Regions from separate parts of the Homo sapiens genome. Here regions 1 and 3 are each linked to region 2. Evidence: promoter capture Hi-C in 16 types of primary human blood cells and fetal thymus (Javierre and others, 2016). All regions are on one chromosome and are shown on one strand. The core of a region is centred on a gene start or on the middle of the fragment in contact, and the rest is flanking DNA. Distances in the headings are between cores, read along the strand shown. Region 1 holds the start of DHH (desert hedgehog signaling molecule). Region 2 holds the start of MCRS1 (microspherule protein 1). Region 3 overlaps TUBA1C (tubulin alpha 1c).

Region 1 (4,413 bases), core at 765-3,264, 470 kb after region 2:
CCTCCCTGGCTTAACTATTGGATATAGAGTAAAATAAGTGGCTGGCTGACAAGGATTTTCATTTCCTACCTGAGAGAAGAATCTAGCTTTTTACTAGAGGCCATCAGTTTCTTGAAAAGCCCATGTGCTATGTTGGGAGTAAGAGCGCAAAACTTAGGCTTATACAGATTGTGTATTGCACAGCTTCCAGGGACACCATTCACCTCATAGTCATTGTGTGGATAGTTACTATGATAGTTTTCTAATAAATGTCAGTCATCTTGAGGAAGGGGTGCTTTTTTTTTCTTTTTTCTTCTTCTTTTTTTTTTTTTTTTTTTTGTGAGACAAGGTCTGGCTCTATCACCCTGGCTGGAGTGCAGTGGTGCAATCTCAGCTCACTGCAACCTCCGCATTCTGGGCTCAAGCCATTCTTCCAGCTCAGGCTCCAGAATAGCTAGGACAACAGACACATGCTACCATGCCTGGCTAATTTTTGTATTTTTAGTAGAGATGGGGTTTTGCCATGTTGCCTGGGCTGGTCTTGAACTCCTGAGCTCAAGTGATCCACCTACCTTGGACTCCCCAAATGATGGAATTACAGGGGTTAGCCACAACACCCAGCCATCTTTTTTTTGGGGGGGGGGGTCCTCACTCTGTCACCCAGGTTAGAGTGCAGTGGCATGATCTTAGCTCACTCTACAGCCTTGAACTCTTGCACCCAAGTGATCCTCCTTCCTCAGCCTCCTGAGTACCTAAGACTACAGGCATGTACCACTACCTCCCACTAATTAATTTTTTTTTTTTGAAACGGGGTGTCACTATGTTGACCAAGTTGGTCTTCAACTCATGGCCTCAAGCAGTCCTTGCCTCGCCCCCAAAGTGTTGGGATTACAGGAGTGAGCCACTGTGCCTGGCCTGGTTTTTTCTGATGTACACAAAGTTGCTATGAGTACTAGCCATAGAGTGTGGTGAGGGGAGGGTGAATATGAAACACAAAGTGTAGATTCCACAAATGCTTGCAAAGCACCCTTCTGTAGAGTAGGCACTTAACCTTGGAGATACATGATAAATATGTGTGTGCTTAAGATTGCTTTGTCTAGTAAGGTGCCAGATAATTCTAATACTGTTCTAACACTGCAGTTAAGTAATGGTTCTCGAGGGAACACAGGTGGGCAGTGTTGGGACATCAAGGAAGGCTTCTTAGAAGAAATGACTTCTAAACAAAAGAAATTGGACGTGGTGCCTCTGAGATGAGATCTGAGTGGCTGAAAATGGAGCCCCGGGAGTCCAGAGAGGGAGAAAGCTGGAGAGGTGCCTAGATGGACGGTTAAGGGAAGTGATCCTCACCTCTTACAAAGACTTTTGAGTGTCCACTGCCCTTCAGCAGCTTCCAACTGAGAAGTCATTCATTTGAAAAACAGCAGCTATTAGATGCCTGGCAAAGAAGAGAAGGGGAAAAAAGTTGGAAGTCCTAAATGAGACAATAAGTACCAAGCTCTGTTCCTGGTTCTGGGGAAGTTCCAAAGGAGACTGCAAAGTTAGTAGAGAAATGGGCCCCTGGTATCCTCACCTCCCAGTCCTGCTTAATGCTGAATGTGAGGAGAGATGGAAGTCGGGGAGATCTGGGGAGGACTACAGAGAAGGGAGGCTCTGGTTGTATGCCCAAAGGGCTTGGCTGGTCTTGGGCAGAAATTGGAACCCATACTTCCTGGATGACAGCGGAGGGCATGGCCTGCCAGGGTAGGCTTTGAGAGAGTAAAAATTCCAATTCAAGTATCAGAGGAGGGTGGTTTGGTTCCAAGTTTAAGCTTGGAGGTAGAAGGATGTTTAGGCAGCCAAGGACTGTAAAGCTACAAGTATTTCCTAGGCAGGTGTCTGCCTGGTTTCCAGGATGGGACACACTTCAGTCGCAAAATGGACCAGCAGTGACCGGCTAGATCCCCCGCCCGGGTGGGAGGGGGTGGGACGGTCTTGGGAGAAGGGCGGAGGGCGGGGCCAGGGGCCACTTAAGGCGGAGTCCGGAGTCCGGGCGTTCTGGCAGCACCAGAGTCCTGCAGCAGAGACGGGCTGGGCTGGCACTCACCCACGACCCCCCTTCCCTGCTATGATGGTTTGTCAGTAGCAGGTCCTAGACACCCCCCGCCCGCTCCCGGGGCACGTGGGCAGAGCTAGCAGCAGCCAGGTGCACGGAGCCACAAGAGCTCTAGGGCACTCTGGGGGCAGCTGTGCCTGCTGCCCTCTCTGGTGCCTGTGGAGATGCCTAACTGACAGGAGAGTTAGTGAGGACAAGAACGCTCCCTTTTGGCCGAGGTCCGCTGTATCCATGGCTCTCCTGACCAATCTACTGCCCCTGTGCTGCTTGGCACTTCTGGCGCTGCCAGCCCAGAGCTGCGGGCCGGGCCGGGGGCCGGTTGGCCGGCGCCGCTATGCGCGCAAGCAGCTCGTGCCGCTACTCTACAAGCAATTTGTGCCCGGCGTGCCAGAGCGGACCCTGGGCGCCAGTGGGCCAGCGGAGGGGAGGGTGGCAAGGGGCTCCGAGCGCTTCCGGGACCTCGTGCCCAACTACAACCCCGACATCATCTTCAAGGATGAGGAGAACAGTGGAGCCGACCGCCTGATGACCGAGGTAAGGAGGGCCTCTCCCTACCTGCGCCGGGGCACTGCCAGCTCCTCCGTTTTCCTATGGCAGCCCAGGTGGGTGAGTCCAGCTTCACCTACAGAGAGTTTAGCCTTAGAGATTTCCCTTGTCACCAGCCCCAGGGGGGGGAAAAATCCTTGCAGTCTGGACAGAGTAATTAGGACGGCTCCCGACTAGAATAGTCTGGGATGGGGAGGGGAGGAGGGACTGACTAGTGAGAGTGAAGCTGGTAGAGGCAGCGAGGGCGGGGAAAGGAGGATGGCGGCAGGCGAGACGGGAAATGGCTGAGGCGTGGACCGGGGGTCAGCCACCCAGCCAGGCAGGAAGGGCTGGGGTGAGCTGGGGGCCAGGAGCTGGCTAGGTAGCAGACAGAAGCCTGGCTCCTGACCTGATTGTAGAAAAGCTCTGTGGGCCGAAAAGAAGAGACTGAAAAGGGCTGGGACAGGGGTGGCCAAGGGTCAGGTCACCAGACCATCTACCTGAGGAGGGGCTGGGCAGACATTGCTTTTGGCATGGGAAACGTGTCCTAGAACCAGGACACATCTATTCTAGGGTCTATTCTAGGGCTATCCTAGGGTCTAAACGATAATCTTGGGGTTAAAAAGTAATCCTCAGTGAGAATAACAGATGGACCCACCTGAGAATCAGAGGGCTCCTAAGTCTTCCAAGCTCTGCCTATCTCAGGGGCTTTCCTTGGAATTACATAATTAGGATAAATTCAACTACCATTTTTGAGCATTGGAACCACCTAGAGTGAGGTGGAAGAGAAGGACCACCTCTGGCGAGTGATTTATTTTTTATTTTTTGTAGAGACGGGGTCTTGCCATGTTGCCTAGGCTAGTCTTGAACTCCTGAGCTCAAGGGATCCTCCCACCTCGGCCTCCCAAAGTGCTGGATTACAGGTGTGAGCCACTTCATCCAGCCTGGCCAGTGATCTTGAATGTTAGAACTGAAAGAAAACTTGAGAGATGACATTCCTCCAACCCTCCCCACCCCCACTGCCACCCTCATTTTACATCTGAGAGCTGGACTTCCCCCAGGAGGAAAAGCAATTTAAACTCTCACAATTTAAAGTGGCATGGCTGGGACTAGAATTCAGGACTCCTGATTCTAAGCCCTATATACTTTCCATTACACCACCTAATTGTGTATGGAGTGGGGAGGTGGGGGGAGAGGGAGGGGTACGGATTTCCTCTGATTAATTGCCATAGTTTTCCAGGTTACTTTGTTAGGAAAACCTGTCCAGGGAAGAAATAATTCCTTTTGCTTCTGCCCTGAAGCCTTCCTCCTACCTAGAGATGGGAAAAGGGGCATTCCTTCTTTCCTCCTTGGCCGTGGAACATTGTGGCCCTTTCCTCTGGTTGCCACCTGCAGCAGAGTGGGCAGAACAAGGGACAGGCTCAGGAGGGGCTCCGGCAGGCCTGGGAGCCCCCTCAGTCTTACTTATCTCCCACACCCTGGCTGCAAAAGGCCTCCATTGAGTTGGCTCTGCACTGGGCTGCTGCCCCCGCAGGTCAGGGCCTCGGGGCCTCCTTAGGGGACGAAACGACAAAGTTGGAAGGAGCTACCACTTTTCCTGTTTTCCCCCCACCCAACCCCAACTCTGCGGGGTGGAGGAGACTAGAGGAGAGGGGAAAAGTGTCTTTCTGTTAGGAGAAAACCAAGTCCGAGGTGAGAGGTCGGAGGGGAAAGAAAAAAAGGAAGCTGTCCCTCTGCGCCTCCTCCCGCGGTGTCCCTGCTATGGTGCGCGCCAAGGTCTCCCGCTCCCAGGCTGGAGCGGCCAAGATAACTGTGGT
Region 2 (4,393 bases), core at 225-2,724:
TAGTTATCATGAATTCATATATATTTAATAACATTAATATTATTAATGTTCTGTGTAATCACTTTTTATAAAAATTATTTCAGGCCGGGTGCTGTGGCTCATGCCTGTAATCCCAGCACTTTGGGAGGCCGAGGCAGCCTGATCATGAGATCAGGAGTTCAAGACCAGCCTGGCCAACATGGTGAAAACCTGTCTCTACAAAAAAAAAAAAAAAAAAACTTAGCTGGGCATGGTGGCACGTGCCTGTAATCCTAGCTACTCGGGAGGCTGAGGCAGGAGAATTGCCTGAACCGAGACCCGGGGGCCGGAGGTTGCAGTGAGCCGAGATTGTGCCACTGCACTCCAGCCTGGGCTATGGAGCGGGACTCTGTCTCAAAAAAAAAAAATTTCATTGGTTTTCTGATATTTTCACAAGTTTACATAATATATTTAATCAAGTGCCTGTTAAAAAATAAAACACACACTCTTTCATGGGAGTTAAAATAAGTACATACTCATTAAACAAGTCCACAGAACAGTAAATGAGGTTGGTACTCTCGAAGCAGAGGGCCATAGTATACCGTCAGGGCCAAAAGGGCCAGTCTCTCATTTGACACTTGAATTCCCTAGCAATGTCCATGTTATGTGTTCTTGACACCTCTGATGGACAGCTTTGGAACTGAATCTTTCTTATTCTGAGCTGAAGTATGTCTCTCTATAGCTGCTAGACTTTAGTACCTCGCAAAGGAAGCATAAAACAGAATTCCTCTTTTAGACAACAGTCTTTCTAGTTTTCCGGAACATCTCTCACAGCCCCAAATTCCCAATTTTTCCGACAGGTTCGTTCTCCCACCCCAAGATTCCTTCCAAGGCACTCTCCTCTGAAGGTGCTTCCATTGGTTTTCTCTCTTACCTCCCGGCGACCACAAGTGGCCCCAGCCGTCCAGGTGGGGTCCGGCTGACGGGACCAAGTCGACACTACTCCTTCTCGCAGGGTCTCTTCCTTCTCAGTAAAGCGGCCCACGATCCTCCATCCGCTCCTCAGAGAGCCTCTCTGCCCTTTCTGTCCGCCACATCTCCCTGGCTACATTATCTCCCCGACTAGTGCCTAGCAGGCGGGCCTGATAGAAGTTTCTCTAAAGGCTCTGGAGGAGTCAAACAATGCATAAGGTCCTGTGCAACCCTCAGACTCCTATACCTCGTGGGAATTTGGAAGTCGAAATCCAGTCCGCGGTCCCGCCCCTCCCCGGGTCGCCTCAATTAGCCCCGCTCGGTCTCGCCCTAAGTCTCGCCTTTCCCTTTAACCAACCCCTCAAGCCGGGTTACCTCTCCGGTGCCTATAATCCTTAACGTTTCCCTATATGCTGTCCCAACTAGGAAAGCCTTTACTTTCCGCTATTGGTAAAATATTTACACTTTCCGTACCATGGCCACGCCCCCTTCACACACGTTGCCAAGACGAACCGGAAGAGATTGCCAGCCCCCTGGTTCGTTAACCGGAAGTAGACGTACCTCACGGAAGCCGGCTTTGGCCCTGCGGCTGCTACCGTCGCCGCGGAGAAATTGTTGGATCTGGCAGTCTAGGAATGGTGAGACCTCGCGGTTCGCCTCTGAGGGTTCTCAGAGGAGTTGGGGATGAAATGGAGTTTTGCAGAGTGCCGCCGGGGACGACCACCCCCCAAGTTTGGGGCCCCGCCCCAGTGGCGCCCCGAAAAGCTGCGCATGCGTGGGCCGGACCGGGTTAGAATCTGGCTCGAAGTGTTACGCATGCGCAAAGGCATGGAGACCGTGGGGTGAGAATGGGCTTGCGAGTTTACCCCCACCTCCCCAGCCACCAGCCTGTGGGTCTCAAACCAAGGCTACTTGGTGCTCTGCTTTGAGTTGCAGAGGTGACTTCATCAATGCTCCTACCCCGAGTTCTTGAGACAGACCTGGACCGATCCCCTACCTTGGGTGTGCACTCTTGGGAGAACGAGGGGCGGAGGGTCCGGTAAGGAAGGGGCACAGACCCTACCTCAGTTTGCCGGCAAGCTCGGGCCCCTTCGCCCTCTCCTCAGATGTCAAGATTCTTAGTCGTAGCCTATGGAGCGGAGAGCGACAGGCTCACCTGGGGACAGGGCTAGAACACTGAGCTAAGAGCCACCCTGGTTAGAAGTGGGGACTCACGAGAGGAGCGCCCCGAGAAAGTCCAGTACCTGGGTTCTCTAGGGGTTGTTGGGGCACAGCGTGGTTGATAATCACGCAGTTCCCAAACAGTGGTTTTTGGTTTCCACGAGATGGTATCTCATGGAAATACCACTTACTAAATCTTCAGTAAAAACCCCAAATGGAAAAGAAAAACAAAAAAAAAACGAGATGGACTGGTTGGAGTTTTGTCTCCCTTTCTTTTTTCCTGCTTTGGCCTGGGAGGGGAAGGCTGGTGCTGCTGAGCTGAGTGGACAGCTGAAGTAAAGAAAAATGTGGGCCAAAGAATCCCTTGTCTCTTGCTAGTTTATAGTCAAGGCGCTTAACCTAGGAGATACCAGTAGAATTAAAGGGTCTATGAACCCTCTAAAATAGTATGTGTTTGCACCCTTTTCTGCAGTCCATAGCTGTTATCATACTCTGAAAGGTGCCAGTGACCTTCACAAGACTGATGTCTAAGGCTATTATTGGCAGAGTGGGGCCTTATGCCTCTTTCCTGTCCTTATGTCTTCCCTAGCTTATGGGACCCTGGGGGACCTGAGCCAGTATAAGGAAGTGAGGCTGGCCAGTTGGAAATCTGAGCCTCAGGGAGCCTCATTTCTCCTTTGCAGAATCTCCTCTCAGCCTTTAAGCTCACCTGGTCAGAATCCTTGGATGAGCCTGTGGGACCGTTCCTCCTAGCCCGGTGGTTTGGAACCAGTGGCTTTGGGACTGTAAGAGGATGGACAAAGGTAGTATGAGGCCGGGACAGCTCCCCAAATGCTCGGGCGCCAAGCATCTGCTGATTCCACTCTGTGCCTGGCACGTGTGTCTTTCGGTCCTGGCTAGGCCTTGCCACCTCCCCCTGGGCCAGCACCACCCATGTACCTGTCGGCAGAGCCACAGTTGACTGACTTGCTGTTGAGCTGCTGCTCTTTAGCACGGCTGCATTTTGATGGCAGAGGGAGCAGTTATGCCCAGAGCCCAGCGTGTCGGCATCACCAGTCTGACCTGAGCACCATGTGCTGCACGACATGACACGTGGCACCGGGGGAACTGCCCAGCGTGGAAGGTCTGGGCCAGGTCTGAGCCCAGATGGGATCTGGATGGCCAAGGAACTCTACCTTAAAACCTCAAGTGTCAAGGAGGCAGGGGAGGGGCCAAGAGGGCTGGCAGGGGAAGGGGGCTGGGGAGGGGTCCCATTTGCAGAGGCTCTAGGATCTTAGGAGGCCCGAATCCACCATTTCTCTCTTGCTAGATTCTCAGGGGCTGCTAGATTCATCCCTGATGGCATCAGGCACTGCCAGCCGCTCAGAGGATGAGGAGTCACTGGCAGGGCAGAAGCGAGCCTCCTCCCAGGCCTTGGGCACCATCCCTAAACGGAGAAGCTCCTCCAGGTAGTAAGGGTTCGGAGGGCCAGGAACTGGGAAAGGGTAGAAGGTCTGTGGCGTTAAGTGCCACATGCCTCCCCATCTGTTGGGAATGGCTGCCTGAGCCCCTCTGGGGCCTTAGTATTGGCAGAGCCTTGTGCTTTTCCTGTCCCTGCTAAATCCTTCCCTGTGGGACTGAGGGCAGGGGAGGGAGATCTTAGGTCTCTGACGTGAAGTCTTTGTGGTGTGATACCCTGTCATCTCAGAGGGCTGGAGTGTAGCAGTTCCATGGCCACAACCAGGCTGTGGCGTAAAGTGAAAGCAGGCTGGAGCAGATAGCACCCTACTGGGCACCTGCTCTCTTTTGGGGGCTGGGGGTGTGTGAATGGGTACCAGGGTGGGGTAAGGAGTGTTCACTGGGCAGGACCCTTTACAGGTTCATCAAGAGGAAGAAGTTCGATGATGAGCTGGTGGAGAGCAGCCTGGCAAAATCTTCTACCCGGGCAAAGGGGGCCAGTGGGGTGGAACCAGGGCGCTGTTCGGGGAGTGAACCCTCCTCCAGTGAGAAGAAGAAGGTGAGGAATTGGGAGACTTAGGGGATGGGAGGTAGTGCCAGATTTCATGTTTCCCCAGAACCTTTGCCAGCTGCCAAGAGCCCTGCAGAGCAGGCTGGTGAGAGGACCAAGCTGCCCCAGCCCTCATCTCAGATGCCCCCCTCCTGGGAACACACCTCTCCCTACTCCCCATTTCTTGCTGCAGCCCCCACCCCCAACCCTGCCATTGCATCCTGTATCACATTCCGTGTGGGAGGCATGGAGCATGCATCTATTCTGGGAGCAGACAGCCTGTTCCCAGCATTGCAGAGTGTAAAAATAACCCCC
Region 3 (4,763 bases), core at 854-3,353, 300 kb after region 2:
TGCAAATAGTCTCATTTTAGTTGCAAAGAATGATTTCTGTAGTTTGGTCTCAGAACTGCAAAAGAAACTCTCATCCCACTTTATTTAAAGTACTATACTTACCAGCTTGCGAATTCGGTCCAACACGAGGTCAATGATCTCCTTGCCAATGGTGTAGTGCCCTCGGGCATAGTTATTGGCAGCATCTTCCTTGCCTGTGATGAGTTGCTCAGGGTGGAAGAGCTGGCGGTAAGTGCCAGTGCGAACTTCATCTGGAGAACATGATGGGGGAGGAGGAGGAGGGACAAGGAGCGGGGAGGGAGAGTGGGTGAGTGACCAGCGGAGCCCCCCCAGGACAGACCTCCTGTCCCAGCACCCTGGGATCTCACTTGGGTTACTGAGGTCAACTCACCAATGACTGTGGGTTCCAAGTCTACAAACACTGCCCGGGGCACATGCTTGCCAGCACCCGTTTCACTGAAGAAGGTGTTGAAGGAATCATCTCCTCCCCCAATGGTCTTGTCACTTGGCATCTGGCCATCGGGCTGGATGCCGTGTTCCAGGCAGTAGAGCTCCCAGCAGGCATTGCCAATCTGGACACCAGCCTGGCCAACGTGGATGGAGATGCACTCACGCTGTGGGAGGAAGAAAGGAAAATGTCAGGGTATAATACATCAGATGGGACATTTAGGAATGATTCACACCTAATGACTGATTAACCTTCAAGACAGATAACTGGCTGGGCGCAGTGACTCACACCTGTAATCCCAGTACTTTGGGAGGCTGAGGCAGGTGGATCACCTGAGGTCAGGAGTTTGAGATCTGCTTGGCCAACATGGCAAAACTGCATCTCTACTAAAAATACAAAAAAAATTAGCCAGGCATGATGGCGCACACCTGTAGTCCCAGCTACTTGGGAGGCTGAGGGAGGAGAATCACTTGAACTCAGGAGGTGGAGGTTGCAGTGAGCTGAGATCACACCACTGCCCTCCAGCCTGAGTGACAAGATATTCCATCTCAAACAAAAAAAGATAACCATCTTTCAGCAGGCCACTCCTGCTCAGGGACTATAATTTCAAAAGCAAAAATCTTTGAAGACCTAATTCAGCAAAAGTGCCTTGGAAAACCAAAGATGTGTTCATGAACTACTCGGCAAGACCAGACAGTTGCTTTGTAGCCACAGTAGATATGATTCCTTAAACTAAGGCAAAATTCCCCTTTCCAGCTCTGATTCATTCTCTGAATGATTGTGTAACTACTGAGCTCATTCTGGTCCCGCTTTAATCCTATTCTTTAGGAGACAAAAGCTTCTCTCTCCCTCCTTTAAAACCAGCTTAAACCAGCAAACTATAGCCATGACTCATGAAGAAAATGCTGGATAAGCAGCAGTTAGCTGTATTTTAAAAACTGTGGTCAGAGGCAGCTTTTTAACCAAGTGGAAGAATCTAATCTATAGGAAGAACGTTTTTCCTTCACCGTCAAAACATCTCCGGAAGAGGGAAGACCATAATAATAAAGGCTAGAAATGTTACCAAGACTTTACTGATAGGTTAAGAAATTAGTTGTTTCTGGCTCACACCTGTAATCCCAGCACTTTGGGAGGCCAAGGTGAGCAGATCACTTGAGGTCAGGAGTTTGAAATCAGCCTGGCCAACATGGTGAAACTGTCTCTATTAAAAATACAAAAAAAAAAAAAATTATGGTAGAGCACAGTGGCTCATGCCTGTAATCCCAGGACTTTGGGAGACCGAGGTGGGTGGATCATCTGAGGTCAGGAGTTCAAGAACAGCCTGGCCAATATGCTGAAACCCCATCTCTACTAAAAATACAAGAATTAGCCAGGCATGGTGGTGCGCGCCTGTAGTCCCAGCTACTCGGAAGACTGAGGCATGAGAATCACTTGAACCCAAACCCAGGAGGTGGCGGTTGCAGAGATCTCGCCACTGCACTCCAGCCTGGGCAACAGAGGCAAGACTCTGTGTCTGTGTCTGTGTGTGTGTGTCTCTCTCTCATAGATATATATTTATGAGGTGGACCAAGTTAATTTAGAAAGGCCAGAGGGGCCAAAGCAGAATATGGTTAGAAATTACCAAACCCACACCTGCTAAGTAAAATAAGGGAATAAACATAGAATCTGTACACACAGACTTAACAGGAAAACAAAAAGGGTGTTTGGCATTTCATCATAAGTCAGATTAGCCACTTTGGAGACTGGCAGAGCACTAAGTTCTCAAAGGACCTGGTCTCATAAGCCAAGAGATAATAAAAACCCTAATTACTCACAACCTTTGACCTCCTTCCCACCTACACTCCCCATGAAACAATCAAGGTCTCTTAACCACATCAGCAAGCTCAGTATCACCTGGGTCTACTCACCCAGCTCCAGGGGTGTGGGAGAACAGGAGTAGTTTGTTCTAATTAGCCCATGACTATTTACCATTGCATCATGTTTACCTTTTTGAGAAAAAGTCTCGCTCTGTCGCCCAGGCTGGAGTGCAGTGGAAACTCCGCCTTCCAGGTTCAAGCGATTTTCCTGCCTCAGCCTCCCAAGTAGCTGGGATTACAGGTGCCCACCACCATGCCTGCCTTATTTTCGTATTTTTAGTAGAGATGGGGTTTCACCATGTTGGCCAGGCTGGTCTTGAACTCCTGACCTCGGGTGATCTACTCACCTCGGCCTCCCAAAGTGCTGGGATTATAGGCGGGAGCCACCACGCCCGGCATCATGTTTACCTTTAACTGGACTTTGGAAACGCCCAAGCCCCAAAAAGCTGGAGATAACCAGATACCTGATCATGATGGCCCCCAGGCCCAAGGAGATAAAGTATCTGAGAAGATCCACTCATTCTAACAAATGCTTCTTCTGTTTAAATGCCGTTTCTATTTTGCGCCCGCAATTTTTCTTTCATTGCTCAGTCTAAACTGCCTTCTTGAAGCTTAGCAGGCAGTCAGCGGCCACTGACTTACCCTCCACTCTCCCCTGGCCACGTGGGAGAAAGTGAGGCACAGGTGGAGTCAATTGGTCTAGTGTTAACTGGATAAGCAGCTCTTACCTCTCGTTAAAAAACAAGAAAATTTAACCAGTGTTCACCTAAACCAGTCCGCTGCCGCTCTCCTGCTTTTTAAAGGGTCTCACTACTTTGTGAATCCCACTTTTACCAGTATCTTTTTGGTACTGCTTGAAAAGAAGCAATAAGTTGTTACAGTGCGACATATACATGTATTTACATTTGATTTTTATATTTAAATTCATGTACGTATTTTTGAGATAAGGTCTCGCTGGAGTGCAGTGGTGCGATCTGGGCTCACTGCAGCTTCCACCTCCCGGGATCAAAAGATCCTCCCACCCCTGCCTCCCGAGAAGCTGGGACTACAGGCACGCACCACGACGCCCAGATAATTTTTGTATTTTTAGTATAGACGGAGTTTCACCGTGTTGCCCAGGCTGGTCTCGACCTCCTGAGCTCAAGCGGTCCTCCCGCCTCGGACTCCCAAAGTGCTGGGATTACAACCATAAGCCATCGCGCCCGGCCTAAGATAGTTGTTTTCAATACTTCTGGAAGCTTTATAGAAAACACTCAAGTTACGTATAATTTCACGTTTCTTGAAAACTGAACTAAGAACACGTGGTACTAGTTTACTCTGGGGTTTGCGGGTTTTTTTTTGTTTTTGGACGGAGTCTTGCTCTGTCGCCCAGGCTGGAGTGCAGTGGCGCGATCTCGGCTCACTGCAAGCTCCGCCTCCCGGGTTCACGCCATTCTCCTGCCTCAGCCTCCCGAGTAGCTGAGACTACAAGCGCCTGCCACCACGCCCAGCTAATTTTTTTTTTTTTTTTTTTAGTAGAGACGGGGTTTCACCGTGTTAGCCAGGATGGTCTCGATTTCCTGATCTCGTGATCCACCAGCCTCAGCCTCCCAAAGTGCTGGGATTACAGGCGTGAGCCACCGCGCCGGGCCGGGTTTGCGTTTTTTTGAGACAGTTTCGCTCTGTCGTCCAGACTGGAGTGCAGTAGCGCGATCTCGGCTCAGGGAAACCTACGCCTCCTGGGTTCAAGCGATTTTCCTGCCTCAGCCTCCCGAGTAGCTGGGATTACCGGCGCGCGCCACCACGCCCAGCGTTTTTTTTTGTTTTTTTTTTTTTTTAAAGTAGAGACGGGGTTTCACCATGTTCGCCAGGTTTGTCTCGAACAAGTGCTGGGATTACAGGCGTGAGCCACTGCGCCGGGCCAACTCTGGTTTTATAAGAAAATATCCTTTTGTGGACGTGTTTTTAAACCCGGCTTAAGTAGAAAGCTTCAGCTATAAACCTACCACTAGATTAACACCAGAAATGCAGGATTAGGCAACGTGAAAGTTAATTATTCCCTTCCAAGGAGGTGCCTGCCTCCATTCTCAAGTGGACTGGCGCAGTTGGAAGCTCTCCCCAGGGCAGGGCCACAGGTGACTCAGCAGCGAGTCACTGGGCGCTGGAGAGGGGGAGCCAGGAAGTGCTGCACCGTCGGTGCGGGAGCGCACGAGGGCCTCCGGGGCCCAGTTTGTAAGGCAGTAGGAAGGAGAGGTCGCTTGAGAAAACGTGGGGAGGGATTTTTAGTTTAAGTTCTTGGAGGCCAATGAGCAGGCTCCCTGACCTTCCTCCCTAGGGCAGTAGCGGGCCCTGCGGGGAAAGCCCTCACTAGGATCAAGAGGGCTTTCCATTTCCACTGATGGCCGCACCCGGGCCAGGTTTTCCGGCCCGAACTGGTGTCTGCCAAGTGAACTCGACCTTCCAGCCCGGCCGCCACAAGC

Evidence for each region. Contacts are between HindIII fragments. The CHiCAGO score rates a contact against its expected background, and 5 or more counts as called.
Region 1: the fragment with the promoter of DHH here is called in contact with the fragment with the promoter of MCRS1 in region 2 in 14 of 17 cell types (M0 macrophages, monocytes, M2 macrophages and 11 more); the score reaches 11.3 in M0 macrophages.
Region 3: a contact is called between a fragment that was not itself captured here and the fragment with the promoter of MCRS1 in region 2, in 6 of 17 cell types (endothelial precursors, M0 macrophages, M1 macrophages and 3 more). The highest score is 14.0, in endothelial precursors.

Annotation. Positions count from the first base shown.
Region 1 is chr12:49,092,402-49,096,814 of GRCh38, reverse strand. DHH (desert hedgehog signaling molecule) reads left to right here and starts at 2,014. Exons shown (of 3, transcript NM_021044.4): 1 at 2,014-2,605. The coding sequence starts at 2,303. It overlaps DHH-AS1 (DHH antisense RNA 1), which reads right to left. Exons shown (of 4, transcript XR_007063295.1): 2 at 3,910-3,985; 3 at 2,627-2,693; 4 at 1,071-1,414. RefSeq lists a cis regulatory region at 4,060-4,077 and an enhancer at 3,997-4,141. The HindIII fragment of the contact is 10,631 bases long and covers 1,790-4,413 here.
Region 2 is chr12:49,565,223-49,569,615 of GRCh38, reverse strand. It overlaps MCRS1 (microspherule protein 1), which reads left to right and starts at 1,474. Exons shown (of 15, transcript NM_006337.5): 1 at 1,474-1,568; 2 at 2,775-2,894; 3 at 3,401-3,539; 4 at 3,949-4,087. The coding sequence starts at 2,885. RefSeq lists enhancers at 975-1,024, 1,375-2,178. The HindIII fragment of the contact is 9,561 bases long and covers 1-4,393 here.
Region 3 is chr12:49,265,316-49,270,078 of GRCh38, reverse strand. It overlaps TUBA1C (tubulin alpha 1c), which reads right to left. Exons shown (of 4, transcript NM_032704.5): 2 at 392-614; 3 at 103-251. Among named protein-coding and RNA genes, the nearest start is that of TUBA1C, 2.6 kb to the right of the region's middle. RefSeq lists a silencer at 4,368-4,581 and an enhancer at 4,646-4,763. The HindIII fragment of the contact is 1,629 bases long and covers 1,289-2,917 here.